2 separate regions of the Homo sapiens genome follow, and region 1 is linked to region 2. Evidence: promoter capture Hi-C in 16 types of primary human blood cells and fetal thymus (Javierre and others, 2016). All regions are on one chromosome and are shown on one strand. The core of a region is centred on a gene start or on the middle of the fragment in contact, and the rest is flanking DNA. Distances in the headings are between cores, read along the strand shown. Region 1 holds the start of LINC02768 (long intergenic non-protein coding RNA 2768). Region 2 holds the start of LGALS8 (galectin 8).

Evidence for each region. The method cuts DNA at HindIII sites, captures the fragments that hold promoters and counts their contacts. A CHiCAGO score of 5 or more calls a contact.
Region 1: a fragment that was not itself captured here is called in contact with the fragment with the promoter of LGALS8 in region 2 in 3 of 17 cell types (total B cells, fetal thymus and activated CD4 T cells); the score reaches 5.8 in total B cells.

What each region holds. Positions count from the first base shown.
Region 1 is chr1:235,970,295-235,977,140 of GRCh38, reverse strand. LINC02768 (long intergenic non-protein coding RNA 2768) reads left to right here and starts at 4,630. Exons shown (of 3, transcript NR_183724.1): 1 at 4,630-5,380. It overlaps NID1 (nidogen 1), which reads left to right. Exons shown (of 20, transcript NM_002508.3): 20 at 1-1,311. RefSeq lists an enhancer at 5,042-5,091. The HindIII fragment of the contact is 718 bases long and covers 5,109-5,826 here.
Region 2 is chr1:236,519,691-236,526,597 of GRCh38, reverse strand. LGALS8 (galectin 8) reads right to left here and starts at 2,616. Exons shown (of 10, transcript NM_201544.4): 1 at 2,537-2,616; 2 at 483-630. The coding sequence starts at 527. It overlaps LGALS8-AS1 (LGALS8 antisense RNA 1), which reads left to right and starts at 2,090. Exons shown (of 1, transcript NR_034040.1): 1 at 2,090-3,529. RefSeq lists a silencer at 2,274-2,323. The HindIII fragment of the contact is 5,952 bases long and covers 1-5,514 here.

The DNA.
Region 1 (6,846 bases), core at 4,218-6,717, 550 kb after region 2:
AAAAGAATGTCCAATGGTAGGAATTTCAAGGTGTAGGTCAGATATTTGAGAATAGGGGATTTTTTTGATGTGCCTTAAATTATACCAAAGATTACTAATTATTCCTCTTTGCCCAAAATACTTGCATCCAAGGTTCTAGTCTCTGTTGCTGTGCTGGTCTTTAGCCCCACTGCTTGCACTGATGTCCCTCCTTTTCACGGAGACCTATCTGAGGTACAGGATGGGGCTGGCACCAGATGATGTCCCACCACAGTCCCTCACCTCCGGCCTCCACATGACAGAACCAATTTACACTCAACCATGACCTCACCCCTCCTTGGTTTCTCCCTCGATCTGTGGCCCTTTTTGGATGTATTCTTATCTAACAACACAATCCGGAAAGACTGAATTGAATATTTATACTAATGGTTCATATCCTTTATTGCTCAATGATCTAATTAAAGGGATCATTGCCACATTTCATGTTTATATTTCTACAATTTGTTTAGAAAACATCTCCTGACCATATCAGTAGCTCGTGTTATCTTTTTATCAACTGCTTCCCAGAGTCCTAAAACAATAGAAATTTTGGATTGAAAAGTTCAGCATAAGGAGTTTGAGTCAGTAAAGGATGGGATAAAGGAGTCGAGATGATTCAATGAAAAGTATCACAAAAAAGAGATTGATCAACAAGAGAAATAAAAAAGCCCAAGAGGAAGTGGTAGGGGAAGGAATTTAAGAACAGCAATAAGTAAAACTCTTAAGTAACTCCAAAAAGAAAATGGTACATTTTGCCAAAGACCACTTATACTTGAGAACATGGAAGAATTTGCCTGATACTCTCTTTGGGGAAAAGAGTCTCTCCTCTTTTCCTCAAACCCCAGTACACTCAGCCTCTCTGCCCCACCTTCTCCTGACTTTGTCCTCACTTGCTTCTGCAGTACATTGGAACCTGAATTGAAAGAAAGTCTTCCTTGAATAATTGGAGTTTGTCTTGAGAGGCAAATATAGCCCCAAGAATCACAAGATTCGAGGACCATGTAGGTCTTTTACGTAGCCCAAATCCATAAATTAGTCTCACTTTTTGTATTTATCGTTTCATATTAAACCCTCTATATCAAATGTTCATCATGATTTTGTATGATTTTTATAACTATTTTATTCATTTTATTAGATTTATTCTAAAATTTTTTAATGGTAAATTCTTAAACTGTGGAAACCACTGAAGGTGCTTATTAACTGTTCTCCCAGATTTGTACAAGTATTGGATGATTCCTTGAGTTTACAGCTGTACAAATAGTGTGGAAAATAAACTTTTTTTAAAAAAGAAAATCTTCCTCTATCTTTTCTGAATGAAGAGATTTAATGTTGGGAGGCTGATTCATGATAGACAGACAGACAGCCACTTAATAATCTGCAAAACCTGTGGAGCCCAGAAACTCTTATCCCAGTATTATGAGAGCTAGTATGTTTCTCAACCACAAAAAACCTTAGGGGTTGTAATTTACCTAAAAATGAGTGCAGTGTCTCACACCTGTAATCCCAACACTTTAGGAGGCCAAGGTGGGTGGATCACTTGAGGCCAGGAGTTTGAGACCAGTTTGGGCAATACAGGGAGACTCCATCTCTGCAAAACATCAAAAAAAAAAATTAGCTGGGCATGGTGGCACACACCTGTAGTCCCAACTACTCAGGAGGCTGAGGTGGGAGGATTGTTTGAATCCGGGAGGCCAAGGCTGCAGTGAGCTATGATCGTGCCACTGCACTCCAACCTGGGCAACAGAGTGAGACCCTATCTCAAAAACTTAAAAAAAAAATAAAAAATAAATTATATTATAGATTTCAAGCCACCCTTTTGGATATTGTTTTCATTGAGAAAATATATTCTACAAGCAGGCAATAGAAAAAGTTTTCTGATTCAGCTCTGGAGATAAGCTATGTTTTAATTCTCTTTTTACCTCCAGAAGGAAGAAAGATGCTTTCCTGGCACTGGCTATGGAGTGAGACCCCTGGTCTGTTCTAAGCTGCCACCAACAGGCAGTGCCACTCATGCTGGCCCCTGGGTGGGATGAGAATGGCCTCTGAGTTGAACAGAGTGAAGGGGGCTCAGAAGTTGCAGGAATGAGGTGTCCAGAGCTCAGTTGTTGCAGAGAAGGGAATTGGCACCATCAGTGGAGCCAGTATACAGCCTGCCAGTGTGAATTTCTTGAAAGAGACAACTTACATATGTTAGGGCTAAAACTTCCAGTGTTTTATGCTGGCCATAAAATCTGGTTACTCAAAGACGATATCAAGCTCCATGGTGGAGATAAGAAGCTCCTGGAATCTATCCCTCCATTAAAACAATTGAACTGGCAAGAGCTGTCTGATGCAACTATTTTGGAATTCAGGATCTTAGGGAACACTTGCAGCACCCAGGAGAAAGCTTGATGAGGAGGCTGGCAAGTTTTGGTCAATTTCAGCTCTTTACTTAGTGGTGACTACCACCCACCTTGATCAGCCCCAGGGCAGTCAGTTGTGGGGACAGCAGCTCAGGTACTTAGTGTGGCTTGCTGGAGCCAGGTTGGACAATAAAGACCCAGTTTTCCAAAAACCAAGGTTGTGGGTTCTGATTACTGATTGCTGCTTTTGATCCTTGAGGGGCTAGCATATAGGGAAAAATTTTCATGATACTGGGTTTGTCAAACATTTCTTGGACATATCAAAAGCACCAGCAACGAAAGAAAAAAACAGGTAAGCTGGACTTCATCAAAATTAACATTTTTGCATCAAAGGATACTATCAAGAGAGTAAAAAGACAACCCATGGAATGGGAGAAAATATTTGCAAACTCTATATGTGATAAGGAATTAATATTCAGAATATAACTACATTTCAACAACAAAAGCAAACAATTTAAAAATGAGTAAAGGATTTGAATAAACATTTATATGAAGAAGATATACAAATGGCCAATAAGCATATGAAAAGATGCTCAATATCATTAGTCATTAGGTAAATGCAAATAAAAACCACAATTTGACACCAGTTTACAGTATTAAGATGGCTTTTATCAAAACAAAACAAAACAAAACAAGTACTGGAGAGCATCTGGAAACGTTGTCCGTTGCTGATGGGAATGAAAACAGACAGCTTGGTGGTTCCTCAAAAAGTTGAATATAGAATTACTATATGATCCAGCAGTTCCACTCCTAGGACTATACCCAAAATAATAGAAAACAAGGGCTGGAACAGATGCTTCTGTGTTACTGTCCATTGCAATATCATTCACTGTAGCCAAAAGATGGAAACAACCCAAGTGTCCATCAACAGATGAATGGATAAACAAAATACGTTATGTACATAAAATGGAATATCACTGAGCCTAACAAATGAAATCCTGATACATGCTACAACACAGATGAACCGTCAGGACATTATGCTGTGGGAAATAAGCCAGACACAAACTATCAAGCAATATATGCGCTTCCATTTATATGAGGTATCTAGAATGTACCAATTCATGGAGACTGAAAGTAGATCAAAGGTTACCGGGGGCTGTGGGGAGGTGGAATGGAGAGTTATTGCTCGATGGCTACAGAATTCTTACCTGGGAAAATGAAAAGTATTGGAAATAGTGGTGATGGTTGCACAATATTGCGAATGTAATAAATGTCAGTGACTTGTACACTTAAGAATTATTAATGGCTGGGCACGGTGGCTCACGCCTGTAATCCCAGCACTTTGGGAGGCCAAGACGGGCGGATCACAAGGTCAGGAGATCAAGACCATCCTCGCCAACATGGTGAAACCCCGTCTCTACTAAAATGTAAAAAATTAGCCGGGTGCGGTGGTGCGCACCTGTAGTCCCAGCTACTCAGGAGGCTGAGGTAGAGGAATCGCTTGAACCCGGGAGGCGGAGGTTGCAGTGAGCTGAGATCGTGCCATTGCACTCCAGCCTGGCAACAGAGCAAGATTCTGTCTCAAAAAAAAAAATTATTAACATGGCAAATTTCATGATATATACATATTTTACAATTTTTAAAATTAATAATGTAATATACCCAAAACCATTGCAGGTACACTTTGGGTGAATTACATAGCATGTGAATTATATCTCAATAAAGCTGTTTTGGGTGGGCACAGTGGCTCACATCTGTAATCTCAGCACTTTAGGAGGCTGAGGCAGGAGGACAACTTGAGGCCAGTAATTTGAGACCAGCCTGGGCAATATAGTGAGACCCCCATCTCTACAAAATCTTTTAAAAATTAGCCGGGTGTAGTGGCAAGTGCCTGTAGTCCTAGCTACTCAGGAGGCTGAGGCAGGAGGATTGCTTGAGCCCGGGAGTTTGAGGTTACAGTGAGCTATGATCATGCCGCTGCACTCCAGCCTGGGCCACAGAGCAAGACCCTGTCAAATAAATAAATAAGCTGTTTTTTAAAAATCACTGTAATTAAAAACAAAAACTCCTGGATACCTAAGGTTGGCAAAATGCTGATCGTTGTTGTGGCTGGCCGAATTCTAAAGATTTCAAGATTCTAATTTTGTACTGCTCTGAAGGGACTTTGCAGATGGAATTTAGATGACTAAGTAGCTGACGTTAAAACAGGCAAATTATCCTGGGTTATCCAGGCAGGCCCTTAAAAACAGAGGAGGGAGGCAGAAGAGTCAGAGAGATAAGGCAGAAACAGAAAGCGGGAGAGGAGAGGGTGAAGGGGGAGAGGGACTATTTACACTTCCCTTTAGGTTACAGGCACAGAGAAACCTTTAGGCTGAACTTAAAATATGTGAGTAGCTTTAAGCTAAACTTGATTTAACAGGGAAAAACAGGACTTTGCAAAAATTCTTTTAGGGAGTGTACTATCGAGCACATTTGAAGACCACAGGTCTCGAAAGCGGGGAAGACGGGACCCAGAGTCCCCCGCAGCAGCGTCACGGCCCAGCTCTGGTTCTCAAGTTGGGCTGCTGTTTTTCCCCTTTTTCTCATCCGCCAGGATGCCAGGCGCTGCTGAAAGCTGCAGCCGAAAGGATTTAGAATTCCTTACAACGGAGAAAGGGTCTTTGCTCAGACAACATGGACTTAAGAGACGGAAGGGCCAAAAAGGCTTGAAAACAGGCTCGAAGAGCGGCTTCCTGGTAGCTAGAAGCTTAAGTGGGGACAGATGAGCTTAACTGGCAAGCCTGCGTGTGTGCTCTCCAGCCCCCGTGATTCAGTTTAAATCTGGGCGGGTCTCCTCAAAGACAGTTCCAGAAGGGGCCACGTGAGGGCAGTAAGAGCCTCTCAATGCCTGTTTTTGGGGGAAGAGAGAAGTGAGGGCGGAGCGCGGGGAGCGTCCCAGGCCTGGCTACCCGGATAACTTCCCCAAAAGAAGCTATGCTCGGGCCTTCCCATCGTCCCACTCAAGAGCTTTCTTCATATTGGTGAGTTGCCCAACTGCTAGCAAAAGAACTTCCCAATTATGGTCAAGCCTCTTCATCTAAATTCAGATTTCCACCAAATAGCCCAGCCCTTTTCCTCCCCAAGTCATCTCCTTACTCAAACATTTGCAGACATTCGTCACACGAGATCCCCAGCCGTGGGCTCAGCATCTTACACCGAGGTACGAAAACACAGAAGTATTCCTGAGTGTATTCTGTGTATGCAAAAGTGCATACGTCTCCTTATGGACCAGGTTCTGAGTGAATCTAAGTGGAAAACACGGAATAGCAGGCTAATTCCAGAAAATGCAGGGCTTTTGCAAATAAGTGGGCGTCTAGTCACTAAGCAGGTAGTAATAACAGGTGATGCTAAATGATTGCTTCGAACCACTTTGTTAAGGGGATCAGAGAAGGGAGAAGGCTCAGGAGAGAGAGTGCAGCAAGAAGCTTTTATTAGCTGGATGGAAATGGGAAAACTAACTCAGGATAACCTTATGTAGTAGAATTTATTGTGCCCATTGAGTAAGTCAGGAAACTGAGGGTTAAGGAGGTGAAGTAACTTGGCAAAGGTCACGCCGTCAGAGCAGAGTCCAGTTCCAGATTTGGTTTACTCTAAATACCCTTCCTCACCCCCCTTTTTAAGAAATACCTTAAATGAAAATTTATTTTTACTTTATCTTACATTATTATTTATTTGTATTCAGCACATTTTCATTTAGAAAGTTGGAAAATAAAGGCACAAGAAAAACAAATAACAGTAATTTCATTACTCAATAATGGCCTCATCACTACAATCTTGTCCAGAAATGTTGTAAACACACACACACAATACTTTTACATATATTTTTGTAAGATATATATATAACAAAAAATGTGATCCTGTGATACTTTTCCGTATTTTTGTTTTCCATTTAAATAAATGTGCATATGAACATTACTTTGATCAACTACATAATAGTATCATACTCTATTATATGGACAATAAACTCTCACCAGTTCATTTATTGATGAACTTTTAGGGTGTTTCTATGTGTTTTTTGATGTGATAAATAACAATAAACCAATAAACACCCACATACTAATATCAGTGTCCTTTTTTTTTTTTTTTTTTTTTTTTTGAGAGTCACGCTCTGTTGCCCAGGCTGGAGTGCAGTGGTGCAATCTCAGCTCACTGCAACCTCCGCCTCCCGGGTTCAACAATTCTCCTGCCTCAGCCTCCCGAGCAGCTGCGACCACAGGCATGTGCCACCATGCCCAGCTAATTTTTTATATTTGTAGTAGGGATGTGGTTTCACCATGTTATCCAGGATGGTCTCAATCTCCTGACCTCATGATTCACCCGCCTCGGCCTCCCAAAGTGCTGGGATTACAGGCATGAGCCACCACGCCCGACCCTCAGTGTCCTTATTAATATCTTTAGGATAAATTTCAACTCAGGATTATTTAAAAATTTAAGACTTTCAATAGAT
Region 2 (6,907 bases), core at 1,367-3,866:
AGACCCTTACTACTTCACACTCTCCATCTCCCCATTGGCTTTTGACATTTTCCCTGCTCAAGGGCCAAGCAGTATTTGAAAGGCTGAGGGAAAGATCGAGACATTAACTTCTCATGGACAGCTCTAATTAAAAAAGAAAATGAAAAACTTGTAGAGTAAGAAATCCATTTTCCTTTAAAAACTACAATTTATGATTAGCTGAGCCTCCTCCCATCACCAAAAGTTGGCATTCCCTCCACTCTACCCAGACGTTCCCTGTTCATAACACTGTTTCATCACGTCATATTATCATTGTGACTTCTTCCTCCACTAGAGGACAAGAGCTGTTTTGTAATCAGCACCCACCACCATCTCTATTACATAGTAGGTGCTTTAAATATGTTCACTGGCTTTTATTCTTGCCCTGTCTCCCAATGGATAATTAATATTCTATTGGATCTGTCCTGGCATAGGTAAAAAGTTATCTTATAGAAATCAGTTACCGGGTTATAGATGATATTCTGTAGGTTGTTTAAGGACAACATCATTCTTTTCCAGCTTCTTGTCGATTGGAGTCTCTTCTGTGTATGACCTAAGATTTTAGGCAAGTTTCATTTAAAGGTTACCTGGATTGAAACTGAGGCACTGGCCCTGTGTAAAGTAAAAATAGAGGAAAAGAAAAGTAAGCATGTAGCATTTTTCTTCATATCCTATTTTAAAATTTAAATTATATATTATGTTACTGATATTTACCAAATAATAGAATATTATTACAATCAACGATCTGCCTCCCATTCTTACCAGTGTGCTCATATACTAAATAATTTTGGATTGTGAGTGTAGGAAATATTGACTTAAAAAATACATCAGTAGAAAATTTCTAACATGGAATTTATTATTAAAAATACTAAAATAGGCCAGGCATGGTGGCTCACACCTGTAATCCCAGCACTTTGGGAGGCCAAGGCGGGTGGATCACCTGAGGTTCAGGAGTTAGAGACCAGCCTGACCAATATGGTGAAATCCCATCCCTACTAAAAATACAAAAATTAGCCAGACGTAGTGGCATGCACCTGTAGTCCCAGCTACTCAGGAGGCTGAGACAGGAGAATTGCTTGAACCTGGGAGACGGAGGTTGAAGTGAGCCGAGATTGTGCCACTGCACTCCAGCCTGGGCAACAGAACGAGACTCCATCTCAAAAAAAAAAAAAAATTTAATTAATTAATGGTAAATACTAATCAAACAGTCCCGTACAATTACCAGAGGTATTCATTTAGATTTTCATTTCCATAAAATGAGAATTACAGTATTCACATCATTGGTTTGTTCTGAGGATTGAGTTAATAAAACAGCGAAAGAGTAAGCGCTATGTTAGCTATTATTATTGTGAATAGAAAGAATTGCTCTTCCTCCTCCAATTTAAACAAATCAAAGTAGGGAAAAATCCAATACTTTTAATACTATTAAGATACGGTTTTCTCTGTTGCTTAAAAAAATAATAATCACAGGGCAGGGGAGTGTTGGAAAGCATCAGCCACATTTTTTAAGATAAAAGCACTCATGGACACTACACTACATTTAATAGCTCCAGGAAAAACTCGACTTTAAGCAGAACTAAAGGGGAAATGAAACCAGAGCTTCCTGTATTTTACTTCCAGCAATTCTGTCATTATACTGCACACCAACAATACACACCGATCAAATCTATCACTTTTTCTTTATTAAGAAAAAAAACTGTATCCCTCTTGGTTTACCACCTAAATATAGCCCCATGTCATTAACTTAATTCGTTAGTCAAAACCTCAAAACTCTGGCTCCGTGACTCAATTCAGGAAGTAAGAACAAGAGCAAAAAGAATGGATGCCGAGTTGCCATACACATGTATAATAACAAGCCAGTGACCCAATTTAAGCCATCTGCTTGCATTAAATCACGCAACCCCCGAAGTATCCCCAGGGACAGGTCCCGCCAGCATGAACACTTCGTATGCATCACAAGCAGCCATCACTTAAGTTTCACGTACGGTCAAAGGAAGTCACATGACTTGCGCTTTGCAATGTTTAACACTGCAGTCAAATGACTCGGCATCCTAAAGAGCGTGTTAGAGGCAGGGAACGCAATGGAGGTCACTCCACTGTCACTACAAATTCCGGGAAGGAAACTTCCCCAGATTCCTCCACTTGGAGGTGGCGCTCGGCCTCAGGCTAGGAGGGAACAGGTGAGAAAGCAGCCCAGGTGGGGTGGGTTTGCAGCGAGGAGACACCCCAGGGCAAACAGCCTGACCCCAGCCAGGGATGTCCAAGAAAGGCCGCGACTCCTGATAATCCCTTATGCCCCGGAGCGCCTCGCCTGCAGAGGCAGCGTCCCCGCCACCCAGCCCCGGCTCTGCCGCGGTGAGGACCGGCGGGTCGGGGTGGACTGGACACTGTCCCACCCATCAAATGGTGATTTAGGAGCCGTGACATCCGAATGCCATCCTCCACTGGCGAGACCCTCAGAGCAGCCACGCCTCTAGCGACTGCCCCGCCACCCGAGGCCGGGGGTCGCGCGACTCACCCAAAGACTGGTGTTTCAGGCGCTCCACGGAGCAGGTTGTTTGTCAGCAGCTAAGTGCCGTCAGGGTTCCCGGCTCTGGCGTCCGTGGGCGGCTACGGGAAGCGACAGGAGTCAGTCCTCGTTCACTTCCCGGCTCGCGCGCCTCACTGCTGTGGTCTCCCCACCCTCCCCGCGCCCCGCCTTCTGTGTCTGGGGCGTCCCTGGCGGCTCTGCTGGGTTTTGGACAGGGACCCGCCGCTGATCGCCACCCAGCTCGGCCTCCTGCACAGCCTCTGGAGCCTTGGACCGCGACTGGCTTGCTGTGGGACGAGCACAGAGGGATAAGGACAAAGAATGTGTCCTGGGTGGATCTGGCTGCCTTTGCCCGGAAGGCGGAGTGGGGTGGGAGGTGGTAGGAAAATGGGAAGGAAAGAAAAGAAAGGTGGGCCGACGTCCACCTGGCTGTTCCAGGCCTCCAGGTCTAGGAGGGAGGGCGCTCGGGGCTGGGACTTTTCAGGACCAGGGTGGTCACCGCACAGGCCCCGCCTGCCTGGACCAAGCGCTGGCCTTCCCGGGGCGCCCAGGTCCACGGGGTCAACGCCAGGGTTTTCTCAGCTTCCTCGTCTGCCTCGGATCCAAGTCCAGACAGTGCCAGAAGAGACTTGGAGGCGCTGCTTTTTGACAGTACACACCTCTGTATGCAGGTGAAACGGTGGGGGAAGGGTTCAGTACGCTGGACTGTGCCCAGCCCAAGCTCCCCATCCGTTAGTGATAACTTGGACTCGCAGCCACTCCGCGTCACTCGCCAGTTATCCTGCGTGTGGGTGTTTTCTCCAAATTGGACACTTAGGGAACAGTTTAAGCAGTATGGAGCACAATTCTGTGCCTATTAGATGCTCTTAAATACCCGACTTCTCAGGGCCCTACACTGACTGATAGTTTGACCTATTGGCTGTAAACACACCAGCCAGAAATACAAATAAAGTTAAACAAAGTCATGTCAGCCACTTGGAATGGCTGGCTGCTTACTGTTTATTTTCTGTTAGGGACCTCAAAGTTCTCATCTTCTCTACTTGGCTTTTATCCACATTTGTTTGGAAAGATATATTTTAGTGTCATTAACGTGGGCTTTCTCCTCCCTGGCTTTTGTTTTCATTATTTTTTGTTTTAATTGAGGAATTCATTACAAGTCCCATAACTGGGAACTCATGTTCTGATTCACTGTTGCTTTTCTCTCCTCCTTACCCATTTTCCAAGCCTGATGCACTTCTCAAGATCCAATCTGAATAGGTGAATTTACCCTTGACATACACTGCCTTGGATTTATAGCTGTCTTTTGGTATGTGTTGTGTGTTTTATCTATCCAACTCGACTGTAGTTTGAGAAAAGGAACTTGTCTTATACAGTCTCCAGTGCATAGTGTAATGCTTTGCATAAAATAGATATCAATGTTAGGTTGAAATGTTAGATTATTGATAAAGTCAGGAGCAATTGAATATCTTCACAATTCTGCCTGAGTCTCCCCCCAGCCCCGCCACTTTGAGACAGGGTTTCCCTCAAGTGATCCTCCCACCTCAGCCCCAGGAGTAGCTGGGACTATAGACGCACACCACTATGCCCAGCTAATTTAAAAATTTTTTTTTGTAGAGACAGGGTCCACTGTGTTGCCCAGGCTGGTCTCAAACTCCTGGGCTCACAATATCTTCCTGCCTTGGCCTCCCACAATGCTGAAATTACAGGCATGAGACACCAAGCTGGGCCCTGAGTCAACCTTGTACTTCTTTACAAAGCTAAAATAAGTTGAAATAAGTACACATAAATGCTGTGTTTCTTTTGTAAGTCATATTTAGGTGCAAACGGGGCTGAGTGAAAGGGCCAGAGAGCAGAGTTAACAAAGAAAATCTGGATTAAAATGTTCATAAATCCTAAGAACTTATTCCTAGAAATATCTCCCTCATTTGGCACTGTTGTTCAATTAGCCCAGTGTGTTATTTTAAATAAGCAAATATTCACTGAATGCCTATCATGGCCAGGCACAGCAGTAAAGAATACTAGCATGCAAAGGACCTCATGGGCCCTTCTAGATAGAGTCCCACATCTCTTACATTATTACTGCAGTATCCTAATCGGTCTCCCTATATTTGCCCTTGCCCCTCTGCAATGTAGTCTCAACACAACAGCCAGAGAAGTCATGACAAAACATAATTCAGATCATGTTAATCCCTTACTAAAACCTACTTTTTTTTTTTTTTGAGGCAGTCTCACTCTGTTGCCCAGGTTGGAGTGGAGTACAGTGTTACATTCTCAGCTCACTGCAGCCTCTGCCTACCGTGTTCAAGTGATTCATGTGCCTCAGCCTCCTGAGTAGCTGGGACTACAGGTGCGCGCCACCATGCCCAGCTAAGTTTTGTATTTTTAGTAGAGATGAGGTTTCACCATGTTGCCCAGGCTAGTCTTGAACTCCTGACCTCAAGTGATCCGCCCGCCTCGGCCTCCTGTAACCTGGGATTGCAGGTGTGAGCCACTGCATCCGGCCAACCGTCTACTAATTTTTGCTCATTCTTTGAGTAAAGATCCAGTTCTTACACGAGCACTTCCTGATCTGCCCGAATCCTCACACACTGTGATTTCATCTCCTACTACTTTCCTTCTCACTTTTTCTGCAGCAGCCACAGCGACTTTGCTATTCTCCTAGCAGGCCTGTCACACTCCCATCCTAAAATCTTTACTCAATATTTCCTTTTCCCTTTTCAAGTCTACTCAAATGTCAGTTCTCAGTGGGGCCCTTCCTGACCACCAATATTTAAAATTGCAAACACTCTCCCAAAACACACTCATACACACTCCCTAGCAACTCTTCCTTGCTTTATTTCTGGCTAACATTTGTCATGCTAATATACTATATAAGGTGCCTTTTTATTTTATGTTACTTCACCCATCATAAGACTATAAACTCCATGAGGGCAAGGAGTTTTGATTGTTCTTGTTTCGAGGAAGCTTATACTCTAGTTGAGGACACATACAGTGATGTGTTTTAGAGAAGATTAAATTGGGAGCACCTGAGTGGCAACCTTAGTTGGGTGACAAGGAAAGTCTCTCAGAGGAGTCAAAGTTTAAGCTGCTGGTGAGTGAAAGAAAGGAAACAGCCATATGAAGATGGTGGGGAAGAGCATTCCAGCCTTAGCGAGCAGCTGCTGCAAAGTCCCTGAGGGTCTTGAGAATGCATTAAATGTGTTCAGGAAACAAAGGCCACCAACCAGTATGGCTGAAGCATGAGGGAAGAATGATATGACATCATGAGATTGGATGGCACCACCTAGGAGAGTAGTGGGAGAAAATCACCTCGGACAGCCCTGGGGAGATAAGACAACGCCAATAAATGAGACTGAGAAGGGACAACCAGGGGAATTTGCTGAGAGTGGTGTCACAGATGCCAAAGAAAGAGAAACAGCCTGTGTGCCAAGTGTGCTGAGAGGCCAAGGAGGACGGAAGTAAGCAATGGGCTTAGGAACATGGATGTCATTGCTGACTCTGACTCTGAAGTGTGTTGAGAAATGGGAGGTGAAGAACTGGTGGAAACCATGACTATAAAGATTTCAGAAAGGTTTGCTGTGAGGAGGAATGGAGAAGCAGCATTATAGCTGAGGAAGGAGTGGAGCAAAGGGCAGATTCAGGTTTTCTCCTGTTGTTTTTTTTTTTTTTTTAAAGAGAAGATACTACATTGGTGACTTTTAGACTTCTTTTTTTTCAAGTGACCTGCCATAAGAATTACATTTCCATTGAGACTTACTACACACATACTTAAAATTACGAAAACAAAAATTTTGACCAGGCACGTTGGCTCACTCCTGTAATCCCAGCACTTTGGGAAGCCGAGGCAGGTGGATCACTTGAGGTCAGGAGTTTGAGACCAGCCTGGCCAATATGGTGAAACCCTGTTTCTACTAAAAATACAATAATTAGCTGGGCCTTGTGGCGCATGCCTGTAATTTCAGCTACTCGGGAGGCTGAGGCATGAGAATCGCTTGAACCCAGAAGGCCGAGGTTGCAGTGAGCTGAGATTGTACCACTGTACTCCAGCCTGGGCAACAGAGTGAAACTGTGTCTAAAAAAAAAAAAAAAAAAAAAAAAAAATTGTACAAAACAATACTCCTGTTATGTGTAAAACAATCTACTTTTTCATTTTAAAAAAATGCTGCTTATAGTCCACTAAAATGTTTGCAAGCCCCACTAATGGGCTGTGAGCTGAAGTTTGAAGAACACTGGGTAGTATGTTGGTGTTAGCTCATACTGGCTTGTGACAGCCATTTTTGTACATAACTTCCATGTTGATACCTTGAAGTTATCCAGGGCAACTGCTAGAACTTAGGAACTTTTTCCCCCAAAGAACAA